2 separate regions of the Homo sapiens genome follow, and region 1 is linked to region 2. The links are contacts of gene promoters, found by promoter capture Hi-C in human tissues and cell types (Jung and others, 2019). All regions are on one chromosome and are shown on one strand. The core of a region is centred on a gene start or on the middle of the fragment in contact, and the rest is flanking DNA. Distances in the headings are between cores, read along the strand shown.

Region 1 (2,700 bases), core at 167-2,666, 260 kb after region 2:
TTGCTTTACAGTCTGATACATGATTCAATTTTGTAAATGTTCATGGGGTCATATGATGTTTGTCAAAATGAAACTACAGAGCAATGGTAAAAAGATGAGAGTTTCAAGAAATTATACTGGGCAACTGATATGCATATAGACATAGTAGAAACAATCCCCTATAAATCAAGTCTAAATGCATTATAGACATAAAATGGCAATAATAAATAAAATAACTATACTTTAGAAAGAATTTAAGAGACTACCTTATTAATTTTGTAATAGGGAAAGATTTCATAAATAAGACAACACAAAACTAGAATAAGAAAAAAAATTAGAAAATTGAATACTTTAGAATTAAGAACTTCTTACGGATGAAAGGATAGGATGTCTAACCTTTGGATTAAAATAATTTGGGGTGGAGAGGAGTAAGAAAGAATAAAGATTAAATAAAACAGTATACATTGACAACTATTGGTATTGTATGATGGCTATCTGGTGGATTATTGTAATATTTTTATACTTTTGTGTATGTGTTAGGTATCATAAAAAGTAGTTGTAAAATAATTGAAAGGAAAATAATCTGAGATGCCCATGAACTTTGTAAAACTATTAGTATTTAATATGGTAAAGTGCTCCTCAAATTACCCTCACAGATAAAATATTCTCACTTATTTAGTGCTTCACTAAAACTGTGTTATCTGCTTTAGAGCTTTTAGTCATACATTTTATATAGTTAAACTCTATAATTTATTATTTAAATCATGAATATTCTCCTGGTCATCAGCAAAATGCTTCTGAGTCCTGCTCCCCACTCCATGGCATATGACAATATAACTTTCTTTCATATTCCACAAATATATATTAAAATTGTTTGATAAGTCAGGTAAATATTGCCTAAGACTAAGTTATATTGTCAGTGATATTGTAAGGTATTATCGTAGAATTTCAAACAGTTAAAAAATGTTGTTTTTCATTTCTGGCTCAACATGAACCTCATCTCTTTAATTTTGAGTCAATTTTCTCTGCTATAATAGATCTTGCTCCTTTGGGAGAGATCATATTTAGCCTGTATCATCGAGGAAAAAAAAGTTCCTAATTTATGTTAACACATGGATTTCCATCATTCAGTTTCCCAATTAGTAAAGCAAAATCTAGCAAAGCAGAAGACATTGTAATAAAACATTATAGATAAACAAATTTTGCAACAAGATGTGAAAGGATTCTAAAATTTGTAGTTGAGCTAAGGGGTATTCTAATCTATATACTTCCTTTAGTAATCTACATTAGGCTTGCTAAAAGAGGCAAACCAATTAATACTGTCTTGAAATGATTACCAACCTGTGACTTATGAATTTATTACCAAAGACTGTAGCAAATGGTCCATCTTTTCTCCATAACCAGTATCAGCTTTTATATTTATATGTGTACTAATATAATACGCACATCTCTGCAGGGAGACATATGTGCAAAAAGTGTAACCAAACCAGAAGTAACCTTAGAAATTCTGTGTTTCAACTAATTCATTGTGTAAGAAGGGAAAATGATATGCAGATAGGTTATCACTTACATTTGCTTGAGAGTGAGTAAACACACAAACACACCTATATATTTTACGATAGCCTTTAAAAAACTAATATTTCTAAACATTTGTTAAATGCAGCGTTGACTAGCCATTATTTATATTTGGGTACATGTATTAGTCTGTTTTCACGCTGCTGATAAAGACATACCCGTGACTGGGAAGAAAAAGAGGTTTAATTGGACTTACAGTTCCACATGGCTGTGGAGGTCTCAGAATCATGGCGGGAGGTGAAAAGCACTTCTTACGTGTTGGCAGCAAGAGAAAATGAGGAAGAAGCAAAAGTGGAAGCCCCTGATAAACCCATCAGATCTGGTGAGACTTATTCACTATCACGAGAATAGCACAGGAAAGACCAGCCCCCATGATTCAATTACCTCCCCCTGGGTTCCTCCCCCAACAAGTGGAAATTCTGGGAGATACAATTCAAGTTGAGATTTGGGTGGGAACAGAGCCAAACCATATCATTCCGCCCCTGGACCCACCAAATCTCATCTCCTCACATTTTAAAACCAATCATGCCTTCCCAACTGTCCCCTAAAGTCTTAGCTCATTTCAGCATTAACCCAAAATTTCATAGTCCAAAGTCTCATCTGAGACAAAGCAAGTCCCTTTCCGCCTACGAGCCTGTAAAATCAAAAGCAAGCTAGTTACTTCCTAGATATAATGGGGGTACAGGTATTGGGTAAATACAGCCATTCCACATGGGAGAAATTGGCCAAAACAAAGGGGTTAAAGGGCCTATCCAAGTCTGAAATCCAGCGGGGCAGTCAAATTTTAAAGCTTTAAAATGATCTCCTTTGACTCCAGGTCTCACATCCAAGTCACACTGATCCAAGAGATGGGTTCTCATGGTCTTTGGCAGCTCCACCCCTGTGATTTTGCAGGGTACAGCCTCCCTCGTGGCTGTTTTTGTGGGCTGGTATTAAGTGTCTGTGCCTTTTCCAGGTGCACGGTGCAAGCTGTCTGTGGATCTAACATTCTGGGGTCTGGAGGATGGTGGCCCTCTTCTCACAGCTCCACTAGGCAGTGCCCCAGCAGACACTCTGTGTGAGGGCTCTGACCCCACATTTCCCTTCTGCACTGCCCTAGCAGAGGTTCTCCATGAGGGCCCTGCCTCTGCAGCAAACTTTTGCCTA
Region 2 (2,700 bases), core at 36-2,535:
ATCCCTCAGCATCCATTAGAAATAAAGCAGGCTCTTGCTTAAAGTTACCAGAGCATCCACCTCTGGGTGCAAAGACAAATTCTCTGAATCAAGTGAGGGGTCTGGGCAATGATCTCACAAGGATTTGATACCTAGGAGTCCCCCCATGCCCATACAAGCTCCTCATCTTTCCACTTACACTTTGGGAAGCTGGCTGTCGTGTACAGGCAGATGAAGCTGGAAAAGAGAGGCATATTCAGTACTCACGAATTCAAACAGCTTGAGGGATTTCCGGTGAAAGTCAGTCCTAACCAGTGTATACGTACATACACACCAACATGTGTGAATGTGTTGTGTGCACGTGTGTGCCTGTACAAGTCCACATGGCATATTTACCTGTCAGGGACAGGCTATGGACAATGACTGTTTCTTGGACTTTCTCTTAAAAAGTCAGATCAGACAAGTTTATTTTGTATACTTTGGGTAAATGTGTGGTATTTCGTGAGTTTGGCAGTTTGTGAAAAAAAAAAAAAAAAAAAAAAAAAAAAAAAGCTGCCTGCTCTGAGCCCATGGGGCAGGGGCAATTTTTTCATCTGACAATCTGCGTGCTTTTGTTTTGCTTGCTTATTTTGGCCCCACAATACCACACCCTTTTCTTAACTAACCTCTTTCTACCTGGGCTGGACGTGCCTGGGCTCTCCTCCCTGGCCCCGCTCCCACCTCTCCCAGGTCTCTAAACCCCTAGAGAACCTGTGTCAGTGTTTTGAATCCCTCAGTTGCTCTAGCAGGAAAACTAGACAGATTAGGAGCTGGGGCACATTTGGCTGAAAGACAGCTCTTCGCTTTCTTCTTATGCTGCTTCCCCTTCCTCTTTTCCCAAATAGATATATAAACACATGTATTTTCCTGTTTAAATTGAGCGAATTGGTCCCCTGCCTGTGCCTTGATTTAGCCATTGGGCTCAGCCTTGCTCCTCCCTTCCTTACTCGGATAGGAGCCACTGGGATCTGGAGCTCCAGCTTCCAAATTGAAGCTGGCCTCAGGCCAGGTGACCTTTTCTTTGTAAGTTTCTTTCCTAAGCGTGGGGTTGGGGGGAGGCGGGGAATGGGGGGGGTTGCAGGGATCTGTTTGGTGCTGTTGAAGGGGGGGCGAGTGAGGAAAGGAGGGGGCTGGAAGAGAGTAAAGGGCTGTTGTTAAACAGTTTCTTACCGTAAGAGGGAGTTCAGACCTAGATCTTTCCAGTTAATCACACAACAAACTTAGCTCATCGCAATAAAAAGCAGCTCAGAGCCGACTGGCTCTTTTAGGCACTGACTCCGAACAGGATTCTTTCACCCAGGCATCTCCTCCAGAGGGATCCGCCAGCCCGTCCAGCAGCACCATGTGGGTGACCAAACTCCTGCCAGCCCTGCTGCTGCAGCATGTCCTCCTGCATCTCCTCCTGCTCCCCATCGCCATCCCCTATGCAGGTTAGTTCCCTTCTTCTTCTTCATTATTAGTATTAGTATTTAACTCTCCTGCTAACCTTCCCTATTCCTTTTAACACCCTCTTTTTACCCTATTCCCAGCATCCTTTCTGAACTCAGTATGTAGTATAGGTTTCTAAAAGCTCTCATTATGCTTTTTTTGACATTCTTTTTTGTTGTTGTTTGAATAGCATTTAAAATGATAATTAACTTTCCCTCAACTCCCCTCCACCTCCAACCCAAGCCCCGTCCCACTTAGCCTAATAGTTGTGGATTATGAGATAGGGAGGAAGTGCTAATACTGGCTGAACTTGGCTGCTTTGGACAAGTTTAAAGCTAAAGAGAGGGTCTGGTCTGAAGAGGCAAGAGTGATGGTCAGTCCGGCAGGAAGTCATCCTTTTCCAGAGAACAATTTTTCATGATAATGCACTACTCCACATCACCTAGTCAACATTTGGAGCCAAATTACGACTTTGTACAGGTTTTCATTTTGAGGAGGCAGAATAAACTCTGAGTATTTGCATATCATAAAAATGAAAGAGAAAGCCTCTTTTTAAAGATCTTATTCTTTCTGGGTACGGATGCCTGCCCTTTGAAACTGCAGTGCACGGAGACTTTGATTAAAGCTGCAGAACTGCCCATCTCTGTCTCCCACTTTCTCCCTTGGATTTGCCGTTTGGGGAGGAGTTGCTTGAAAGTTCATATTGCTTGGAGATTTAGAGATCTCGTTTGCTGCTCTGGGAAGTTTCTCTTGTTATCAGGGCAAGAGGAAACATCTGTATTTTGTTGTATCATTGTAGAGGCTGAGGTGCCAACGGGAGAAGGCAGTGAATATCAAGGGTAGGCGCAGGGGAATAAAAGAGTGGGAACAAATGCCCAGATGGAGACATGGCCTTTTTACAATATAAAAAAGAGAACTGGCTGTATCTTTTGAGATGGTAAATATGACATTTATCAGACCTTTGATCTAGTTTTTGATATGGTACAAGGGTTAAAAAACTCAAGAATTTTCTAAATGCAAAGGAAAATCATTCAACCCACCTGGTTTTCTTTTATTTTGTGAAGTGGCCCGTTTGGAAAATGACACTGTTTGGAAAGGGTCACTCTGAAAGCATTTAGGTAAGATTTCTGAAGAAGTGAAAAAGCAGTGAGTTCAAATCAAGCAGGTTATCATGCTTGACATGTGTCATGTTAAAATCGCTTCACAGGGTCGGGTGCGGTGGCTCACGCCTGTAATCCCAGCACTTTGGGAGGC

What was found. Contacts are between HindIII fragments. The study calls those that stand out against the background at their distance.
Region 1: a fragment that was not itself captured here is called in contact with the fragment with the promoter of HGF in region 2 in 1 of the 25 tissues and cell types used here (mesenchymal stem cells).

Annotation. Positions count from the first base shown.
Region 1 is chr7:81,510,493-81,513,192 of GRCh38, reverse strand. No RefSeq gene overlaps it. Among named protein-coding and RNA genes, the nearest start is that of HGF, 260 kb to the left of the region's middle. The HindIII fragment of the contact is 4,651 bases long and covers 1-2,700 here.
Region 2 is chr7:81,768,632-81,771,331 of GRCh38, reverse strand. HGF (hepatocyte growth factor) reads left to right here and starts at 1,285. Exons shown (of 18, transcript NM_000601.6): 1 at 1,285-1,448. The coding sequence starts at 1,361. The HindIII fragment of the contact is 8,838 bases long and covers 1-2,700 here.